Linked DNA regions of Homo sapiens: region 2 is linked to region 1. Evidence: promoter capture Hi-C in 16 types of primary human blood cells and fetal thymus (Javierre and others, 2016). All regions are on one chromosome and are shown on one strand. Each heading gives the region's core, a stretch centred on a gene start or on the middle of the fragment in contact. The rest is flanking DNA. Distances are from core to core; before and after follow the strand shown.

Evidence for each region. Contacts are between HindIII fragments. The CHiCAGO score rates a contact against its expected background, and 5 or more counts as called.
Region 2: a contact is called between a fragment that was not itself captured here and the fragment with the promoter of SHC4 in region 1, in 1 of 17 cell types (megakaryocytes). The highest score is 6.0, in megakaryocytes.

Annotation. Positions count from the first base shown.
Region 1 is chr15:48,961,747-48,967,169 of GRCh38, forward strand. It overlaps SHC4 (SHC adaptor protein 4), which reads right to left and starts at 2,173. Exons shown (of 12, transcript NM_203349.4): 1 at 685-2,173. The coding sequence starts at 1,269. RefSeq lists enhancers at 647-1,149, 1,150-1,651. The HindIII fragment of the contact is 13,438 bases long and covers 1-5,423 here.
Region 2 is chr15:48,859,222-48,864,644 of GRCh38, forward strand. All of the region lies in intron 6 of SHC4 (SHC adaptor protein 4), which reads right to left. Among named protein-coding and RNA genes, the nearest start is that of EID1, 16 kb to the right of the region's middle. The HindIII fragment of the contact is 1,015 bases long and covers 2,325-3,339 here.

The DNA.
Region 1 (5,423 bases), core at 923-3,422:
AAATCTTCATTTGCCCACATCTTGACTGAGCAAGGACAGATACAAGGCCAGTAAGGACCTTGATTTTGCCCATAGCTCATGGACAAGGCCTACTTGCTGCAGCGTAGGCAGTAAAGGCAATAAATGTGCACCGGAGAGCTAAGACTAGCTCCTGGCACAAGGTTAGAGACTCGGACGTGTTTTGAGAAGTGTTTGTTAAATGCTGAAATAAATTTTTAAAGAATAATTCAAGCCCCTTACACACCATGTGTTTCTACAGCACAGAAATCTTTACTGTATTCATCCAAAATACAATGGCCAGTATAACCTACCAGGTCTCAATCACTGATCAGATTTGAAGTCCTTGACTCTTTTTGGCCAGAATACTAGGTCCAGCGGGGACAAAGTGGTGCCATCAGCTGCCTCTATCAGAACTTGCCTCTACACCTGCCAAGTACCCACAAGTTCATGTCCTACAAGTTAGCACCGGTTCATGTCCTTGAACCAAAGGCTGCCTGACTCCAGTACAAGTCAGATAGTTGTAGGGACATATATAAACCCAGCTCCCCTCCGCCTTGGTCCAGTTGAATCATGTCCTGTCCAAACACAGAACCCAGGCAGGTAACATTAGACCCCTTGCAGAAAGCAGAGAAGATGCCCCCTTCCACGGAAGTTCTTAGAGGGCAGAGAGGAAAATGGACTTACCCTCACACAGTAGTTCATGCCCATCCCCAACAGGTGCTGTAGAAAGTGCCTGTCCTGCCTGCTCCTAAGTGTTGGCTCCCCAGGGCCAGGAAGCGGGCACGAATCAGGGGTTAGGGCGGTTGCCCTGTGTCCCACCAGGTCCTGCTGCGGTGGAGGTGCAGTCCCGGACCTACTTAAACTGGTTTCTGGGGAAGAGGGGCCGCTGGAACCTGGGTCCCGGCTTTCCTGGAGCTTCAGCCGAGGCACCTCTTTGGTACCCAGGCAAAAGTTTTTCAGACTCAGCAAAGTGGCCGGGTTGGCCAGCTTCATGCTTGCCATGCGGGGGATCAAGGTGCACAGTGGGGTGGGGCTCTCCTGCGACGGCAAGGTGGCATCTTCAGTCGGCAGGTGAGGTGCCAGGGCGGGGTGGGGAGGCTGCGGCGAGCCCTTGTTCCCGACCGAGCCTCCGGAGCTACCTTCGTCCAAGGACGTGATCGACTCGTTCCGAAAGCGGCTGTACTTGGCCCTGTGCAGCATCCCGGGGTGCCCGAAGAGTCCTACATACAGCACGAGTCCTGCCAGGCTGTCCTGGCCGCGTTCTCGCATAGCCTTGGCAGTGCTGAAACAGGATACTGTTGCATAAATCGCCTCGTCGTCTGGTAGATAAACGGTGCAGACATCAGATACCTCAACGCCCGATGCAACTCACAGCAGCCACCTCTCCAACTCTGCTCTCGAGCTCGCCCACCTCGGCTCCCGGCCCCTTAAGGGTGACAGCCCATGGGGGAAACGCCTCCCCTGCTCTGATTTCAGTCTCTCCCTGGCCCAGGCAGAGGCACCAGTGTTCTCGCCTTGGAATCCTTGTCGGGAGAGCCTAGACCCAGGCTCCCGGCGGCGCGGGTCGCTCACGGCCAACTCTTAGGCGCAGAACCCGGGCGAGCGCCGGTCGGGGGGCCCGCTGCATCACTAGCCTTGCAGGAGCCTAGTAGAAATATTTAGCACCCGACTCCCACCCTCACCCCAGCCTTCTGTTCTGCACACAGGAACTTTCGAACCTGCTCCCTTCGGCTCTCACAGGGCGGGGCAAATGACTGGCCTATTAACCCTTTATTTGTTCCAGTGATTGTTCATTTAAAAAGGAAAAAAAAATGTATCTATGAACCAAAGGCCCTTTTGCCTGGGTTCGTTGATTCCAAAGGCTGCCCTCTCTTGGAAGATCTTGTCTTGCATCCCGTTCTGGGCCACCAGCCAGGAGTACTACTGACGGGCGCTGCTCCGCATTGTTTCACTGACTTGTGATGGGTCCGTGTTCCTCAGATCCCCTCCCAGCCTGCCTACCCTCGCTCAGAGCTTCCCTCCCTCCTGGATTCCTCTCGGAGCTTTTTTCAGAAGCCCATTTGCAGCCGAAAGCTGAGATGTGCAGGATGATACGCAGCGTGTTGAAATTTTTATGAATGAACTTTGCCGAATGAATTTCTCTGTGTGTGTGCAAGCTAATAAATCTGTGAATGAAGCTGAGAATAGCTGTAATTGACTGACGGTCTCAGAGGTGCTTGGTTTTTATCCAATCAGGAGGCAGCTTGATGACTCATACACCATAAATATACTAAACTAGTAGCCGAGAGAAATAAAGCTAGCGGGAGAGGAGGGACGTATTTTATTTTGTGGTATCTGATGAATGAGTTAAAAGGAAAGGCAATCTTTACTACAGATCATTAGCCGGGGAGCAGCAGGTTAAAAGATCTATTTTCTTTCTTGTTGAGATGGCCGGGAGGGCAGAGCAGAAGAGCTAAAAATTAGACCCATTGTTACAGGGATATTAGGACATATGGTTCACAACTCCTGTGGGAAGCCATGATGCATTTTTCTTAGAAACATAGTTCTTTTTTTATTGATTGTTGGTTCCATCTTCCGTCTGGTGCGACTTCCTGTACCTATCAAATGCATCCTGAAGACATGATGACAACTGCAAAGGCTTAGCACACAGGAAGCCAAAACCAGAGCTGGGAAAAGGAAATGCAGGTTCTTCAGGAATGGAGAAGAGGAAACTGCTGAAACACTGGGGGTGTGGGGTGTCGGGGTGGGGTGGAAATCACACATAGGAAGAGATAAAGAACTCTCAGAAAAGATTGCATTACTCCGTGTCTCAAGGCTTTGACATCTGAAATTGTTCATTAATTAAAAAATTAAGACAAACTGGCAACCAAAGGAATTAAGGGTGCCACCTTCATTATCTTATTGTCCCTAATGCTGGATTAGGCTTATGTATATTCATGACTTTGGGAGCCTGAGCTCCCTTGGGATCCAAACACAGGTTCTGAATTAAATGGTTGAGAGTGACCAGTGAAAGCGGCATCCTCCTCCCAAGCTCCCTGGTCCCCCAGGGAAATAAAGCACCCATCACATCCTGTCTGCCAAGCCTGTTCAGACATTTCTTTCCCTGGAAAGGCCTTTCTGCATCTTCATAAATCTTCCCTTCAATCCTTGTTGACCTCCTTTTCCCTGCCCTACATCTCCTCCTGGCAAAACTGAGGGAAGTAGCTAAATCAGTTGGACCCCACATCCCTGGGGCTGAGGAGACAGGCTCTGGGCAAGAATATTTACCTCTCATTCCTCCTCATTCCTCATCTGCTTTCTTCCTCTCATTTTTCCTGCCTTCCCCTGGGTCCCTGGGTCCCTGTGTTGCTTCTGTTATGCTATGATGACCTCATTATATGCTCCCTTTAGAAAGTTACTTTACCTCTCCGTGCCTGAATGTCCTCATATGTTGGCAGCAGCCATCTAATGGGGTTGTTATGAGGGCTTACGAGGCCCAATGCTCCATACAGTGCCCATCTCACTAAGTACATGTGGGCAGTATGAAAAAATGGCCATTGGAACCAGAGCTACCTCCCCTTGAAGCTCATATTCTTAACCCTCACACTGCAGAGTTTACATCATTCTAGGCAACTAAAAAGAAAAATTAGTACAAAGTGGGAGAAGCTAAGAAACTCAACATTGTCCAAAGAAAACAATTTTTTAAATCAGGTGGGCCTGGAGAAGGCTGGAAAGGACATGGGCCTGCCTGGCTGATAGGAATCCTTACAGAGGTCTCATGACTGCAGGATGGGGTGTCCAGGGGAGCCAGCTCATCTAGGTAGGCACCATGCTGGCCAGACTCCAGGAGCCCAGACCAGCCTACATGCCTCAGAAAGTGCGAGTCCTGGGAGGGTTGGGGGTTGCGAAGTGGGACTAAGTAAGGTAAGAAAGCAGTCATGGCCATTGTGGGCTCCTTCTCTTCCCAAAGCCTAGAGACCTTGGCTGTCCTGGGTAGCTCTGCTACAGCGTTTTACGAGGGTGAAAGAGACCAGATCTGCAACTGGAAGTGGGGAATAGCCTCTAGGCTGAGCCTGCCCAGCTGGACCACTCTCTCAGTCCTAACAGCCCAAGAGAAGGCTCGTTGATTGAATTGCTTTTCATTCTAGGTAGATGGGTGGGTAAAGCAGATGGTTTGCTTTTTCCAGGGCATTAGAACATCCTCTTCAATTAGTCATGATTAAAATAATATTAATAAGAGCTACTATTTGTGGAACACCTGACAGTTTACCTACATTCTGGTTCAATTATTATAACAAATTGTGGATGCTTGGATTATGTTCCTCACTGCCTTACAGATATGAAAATGAGGCTGAGAGAAAGGGCAGTGACTTGTTCAAGGTGCTCCAGCTGTTGAGCAATGATCTTGGGATCCCTCTGGGCCTGATTGCAAAGCCTCTGCTGGCAGCCACTGTACTCTGCTGCCTCCCAGGGGACCAGAGAGCTCAAGTCTAGTTTCCAGGCCTATGATGGCTACAGGGCATCTTACTGCTTCCTAAAGCTCTGAGAAATGACTGGACAGGAAGATGAGCTGGGGATTTTTGGAGGTTCTAGGGTTGTTGGGAAGCCTACCCCTGAGCTGGCCCTCACAGATCAATGAGATCAGGGCTGGCAGAATATTTTCCTATCTATGGTTTTCCTGTATCTACCCCTCCAAAACCCCCAGGGAAAGTGTATTTAGCCCAAAGATCATTTATCAGAAGATAATACTAGACTAGATATCTCAGGAAACCTTTGTAACTGGGCCACTACCTACAAGCAGTATGCACTCAGCAGCAAAATGTAATTGGATGAACATTAATCTGGGAATTCCAGAACCAGCTGTGGGATTTTGAGTAAGTTATTTAACCTCTCTGAGACTTAGGTTTTGTATATGTAAAATGTGCACAATAATAATAACATCTGCTGAGCACTAACTCTAGATCAGGTCCTGAACTAAGTGTTTCACATTTAAGCCCCCCAGCAAGCCTATGCAGCAGGTGCTATCTGACATTTACTGACTTGCCCAAGTCACATAACCAGGAAGTGGTAGTTGTGGTGTAGAATCGAGCACTGACTCACTCCAAACTATGCCCTTAACCACTGTGATATGATCCAGTGTATATGAACCTAACTCCTACTGCATGCTCGATAAATGTTAGTTCTTGCTCCTTTCTCCTCCTTGGAAAGCATACCTATAAAATTCACCCTAAATACCTCACAAGTAACAACATGAATAATAGATAAGAAAAACCATTATTGTCATTAAATCATCTAAGAACCATGAATGCCTCATCATTGCCCTTGGAAAACAGAGTTCTGCTTAGACCCCAGCAGTATGCCTCCTTTACTCTGAGACATCCCCTCTCTAAAGGCACCTGCTAGGAAACAACATGTCAGCTTCTTAAGAGACATCCTATGCTGGC
Region 2 (5,423 bases), core at 1,582-4,081, 100 kb before region 1:
ATCACCTCAAGGAATCTCAGATATTCTCATTCCAAAACTAATTTGACTTTTACTTAAAAATTTTGTCTGAACACATTTGAAAGGGGTGTGTGTGTGTGTGTGTGTGTGTGTGTGTGTGTGTGATGGTGGTGTGGTGGTATTACTAAATCAAACAATGCTAAGGTATCAAATCTTCATTCTTATAAAGTTGCCCCTTTAAAGTACAAATTGGATCCTGAAATAGACTTAGGAGCTAATTCCGGTTTTGAAACCCAGTTAAGAATATCTATAAATTTATGTCTTTCCTACCAAAGGAAAATATTTGGTCTATCTTTACACTGCCATTTTATATTGTTCCTATATTTTTCTCCACAGTAGCTTTACTTAGTGACCAACAGATAGAAAATGCTCTAAACATATTTGTTGAATGAATAAATAGTGATTTCTCTGAATCATATGAATAGTGCTACTGTATGAAATTGTCTTTGAGTTTTTTGAAGTGAGAATTGCAGTGAGTCCCTGCAATGGGACATGTTCTTATAGCTACTAGGTGATATAAATTATTTCTTAGGTGATTTGTGGAAATAGTCTCCTCCTTGCTAGTCAGGCCTCATATCCGGAGACCTAAAAAGTACCCTTGGAGATGTATCCTCCAGTTGAGCCATGAGAAGCTGTGTTACATTATAAGAAAAGGTAATTCACTAGTCCCAGATACTTGGGAGGCTTAAAGGAGGGAGGAGAGAGGTTCACTTGAGCCCAGGGGTTGCAGGCTCTAGTGTACTGTGATCACACCTGTGAATAGCCACTGCACCCCAGCCTAGGCAACATAGCAAGACCCTGTCTCTAAAAAAGAAAGAAAGGAAGAAAGAGAGAGAGAGCTTACATAATATCAAGTATGGCTTAAATGATAAAATATCTCCTAACACTAATATGCTAGCAACCTAACCAAATAAATACTTTTTTTTTAAAGAAAAGGTAATCCTTTTGTTTTTAATCTCGTAAATTCCCAGTCCAATTAAAAATGAAGTCAAGGCCAGGTGCAGTGGCTCACGCCTGTAATCCCAGTACTTTGGGAGGCTGAGGCAGGTGGATCACTTGAGGTCAGGAGTTCATGGCCAACATGGTGAAACCCCGTATCTATTAAAAATACAAAAAAATTGGCTGGGCATGGTGGCAGGTGCCTGTAATCCCAGTTACTTGGGAGGCTGAGACAGGAAAATCACTTGAACCTGGGAGGCAGAGGTTGCAGTGGGCCAAGATGGCGTCATTGCACTCCAGTCTGGGCGACGAGTGAAACTCCATCTCAAAAATAAAAATAATAATAATAAATAAAAATAAAAATGAAGTCAAAATAGAAAGTCATATCAAAATGGAAACAACAATTTTTGCAATTTTATTTTTTCTTAGGATTGAGGAGATGTTGAGAGATGAAGATGAGGAAGATAATGAGAGAAGCAGGATACTTAAGCCTAAATAAATAAATAAGAAAAGCTAAATTGTACTTCCAGTGAGGGCGATGAGAGAATAGGATGTTTAAAAGAACTCCGTGAAAAGATTCAGATCTGAGTTCAAGTTCCAATTATGCCACTACTTATGTGACCTTGAACAAGTCACTTTATGGCAAGGTCCTTGTCTGCCAAGACAATGTCCTGAGTCATCTTTGAAGTCTTTTTGTTTTACAGAAACCCTATTCTTCCTCTGTCATGGAAGCTCAAAGTCTCTGAGGAACAGGGCGGCATGTGGGTACACAGAAATGAATGAATCAATCAGACACATCAACCAGCCTCTAACGCTTCTGGCGTACCTCTAGAATGTCTTATTTATCTCAACTTTTCTGATTCTGATGCTTTGAGGTTTGGGTCCTGTTCATAGGCTGATGCTATCAACATAATTTTCTGCTTTTCTTTGGATTAGCCTATTACTACCATATTACTTTATTTATTATAGAGACAGGTGTCTCACTACGTTGCTCAGACTGGACTTGAACTCCTGGGCTCAAGTGATCCTCCTGCTTCAGCCTCCCAAGTAGCTGGGACTACAGGCATGCCCCAACACACCCAGCTTGAGAAGACTGGACAAAAATAAAAGAACAAACAGTGGTGTCTGTCTGTCTCCAGGCAAGATGCAACAGCAGACAAACAGACTGACCTCATGCAGATGTTCTGCCCAGTCTCACCACCTTCAGGGAGCACATGTACTTTCACAGTTCCATTGTTGCCTCTCATAGACATGCTATGTTGCTCTATGGAAATGGTCTTTTTTAGGTTGGTCATGGGACAGGATAGAGGTGGGCCTTGAATCACATATAAATATGCCCATTTCCCAGGATTAAAACCAATTCCAAAAGCTTGGCCAAGAATTGCCCAATTTTCAGCTAAAGGGAAAGAAGAAAGACAAGTAACTATATATAAAAAGAGCCAAGTCACAAAAAAGAGGGTGCCTTTTCAGGGATATGGTAACTTTGTTACCAAGGCCTGAGCTTTGCTTCCCATGTCTGGAATCAGATGAAAGTCTGGATTTTTTTCATCCCACCTGTAGCAGGATGGGCTCACACTTCCAGCCCTGGGTATCAAGTACTAAACTAAGATTCAAAAGAACCTGAGATACATATTCATCTGTCTTTTTTATTTGGTTATTGAATTAGGTAGTCATAAACAAGAGGATTACAACTATTACTAAAGGATAACAGACACTTCTTTACTACTTTTATATTTGTTCTTAATAAACAGTTTTTTTGTTTTGTTTCTGTCTTTTCCTTTTATACTTAGAAAACCAGAAATTCAAAAGTTCAGCTTTTCAGGTCAACCACCAGATGGTGCTATGGGATCAAAGCAGGGAGTCCTCCATACTTTAGGAAGAAACAACCTCAAAGAGGCAAGCCAGTATTCAGTTCATAGCTAATTAATACCACCAGGACAGTCGTAGGCATACTTTATAACTATAAACATAAATAAAAATAAGTGGATTAATTTAAGTTGGTTTTACTGGTTTTGGGGTTTTTTTTTTTTTAACTTTCTTCAGAGACCCAGAAGCATGGCCTTCCTATATCCAGGTAGTCCAAGCAGTCCAGTCCTATTCACAGACTAGATTCAGGGAAAATATTAAAACATTCCTGGACTGCCACACATTTGGAGTAAGACAATGTGGATTTCCTCATTTACAGCAATTACAGAAGCAGGGTGTATTAATCACTAACTAAACTCAAAACATTCTTACTGGAACTTAACCTTTTCTATAAAAAAGGCCTTTGATAAAATGAAGAGTTCACTAAAGGGTCCTAGCCAAGATGGAAAAAGTGGGAACTGCCCTGATTTAAATGCACTAATGCTAAAAGCGAATCAAGCAAAAGGAAGAGTGGGAAGCTTCGGGATTGTCAGCATGAAGCCCAGTCTCCTCTGCTCATCTCCACTTCCTGTCAACCATACTGTCCTCCTCATCCCTGCAATCTGGCTCCTGCCTTTCTAGGTGTACAAAAATTGAGCTTTCCAGAGTGACCAGTGGCCTGTTAATTGCTGGGCGAAATAGCATCTTCCCACCCTCATGCCCCTTAACTCCTTTTCAGTGTGTGACCATCTGAGATGTCTCCTTCAGAAGAACCTTGCTCTTCCCCTCTGTTAGGTAATACTCATTTCTTGACTTCCTCCTGTCCCCTGACTACTCCTTAGGCAAGTCACTGTCTCCTGTGGCTTCCCCCACTCCCTGACATCCTTAGCCCTCTTCTTTCTAGGTTCTGCTAAGAAGTTGCAGTTTTTTTCTGCACCTGCAGGCCTGGCCTGCCTCCCTCCCCTCCCTGCCAGCCCCACCCCCAGCCCCAGACCTACTCTCTGGGCTTCTCTTGTCTGCCATTTTCTCCTGGATGAAACAAACTTGCTAGTTAATTTTATAACATCAGCTTTCTGATTTCATTATTTTAAAACATTTATTCAAAGGTTTTGGATATTTTTTCTTTTTATAAATGTAATAAATATTCACTGTAAGAGTTTTAGAAAACAAAAAGGCACCAAGAAGAAATAAAAATTACAGAAAATTTCACTATCCAGTGGTTATCTCAATAACCACTAGGAACATTTTGCCATATGTCTTTCCTATCTTCTTATAATGCGTATCTACCCAGAAAAGTCACCTGGGATTATACTATACACAATCTTCATAATGTTTTTTGCATTAACAGCATTGTGAATATTTTTCCCATATAATTACTTATTTTTCTACTATTAGCTTTAATTGCTGCATCATAGTACATTCTATGAGTTTATTTAATTTGCTACTTATGAATACTAAATTTTGTCTTATGATATAAATAATATACAAAAATGATCTATATTGCTTAATCTTTGTACGTATCCTAATTATTTCCTCAGAAATAAAACTACTGGTTCAAAGGCATTTACATTTTTAAGATGTTTGATGCAAATGATCAAATTGCTCTTTAAAATGTTTGAATCTAAACTCTTTATCAGCAGTGTTCAAGAATAACTACTACTCGAAACCACATTTTATCTTTTTTCAATGTTTGAAATTTGGAGATGAAATATGATGTCTAATTATAATTTGTGTGTCTGATTGCTAGTGAGGCTAAACTTTTTTATTTTTCAAATGTTTCTTGGTGCCTTGCCATGTTCTTTTGTGTGCTCAGGACGTAGAATCTGTCCATCCACTTAATGGCTGGGTAATCTTACGAAAACCGCCTTATTTTTCTCACCTCCAGTGTTTTCTTCTATTTAAAAAAAGGAATGATATGTTTACATACTCCCTAGGGCTGCTGTGAGGATGAAATGAGATAATGCAGATGGAGTACTGAAAATGCCTGGCACATAGTAAGCATGCAATAAATGGTAGCCATTTTTCTTTGCCTATTTTTTTTATTAGATTGTTTGTTTATTCTATTTATGAGAATTTCTGTTTCTTTAGTGGCAACATCACTCCACATCACACAGAATAGTAATAATAGCTACCATTTACTGCCTAGGTGCTATAAGCCAGGTATTGAAATGTTTGCATTGCATATGATATCTCATTAAATCCTCAGGAACATCTGATTCCTATTTCTCCATCAATCTAAATATCTAAATAGTCATCAAGTACTATTAGTTCACAAATTTGACCCAAACTCTTCCTTCCTCCTCCAGTGCCATTTAGAACATTACACTGCTGCCCACGACTAATGAGATGTCCTCTAAATTGAATTCTATCATTCCAGGTGGCTTTTCTGCTTTCCAATACCAATACCACTTTCTTTTTTTTTTTTTTTTTTTTTTTTTTTTTGAGACAGAGTCTTGCTCTGTCGCCCAGGCTGGAGTGCAGTGGCGTGATCTTGGCTCACTGCAAGCTCCGCCTCCCGGGTTCACACCATTCTCCTGCCTCAGCCTCCCGAGTAGCTGGGACTACAGGTGCCCACCACCACACCCAGCTAATTTTTTGTATTTTTAGTAGAGACGGGGTTT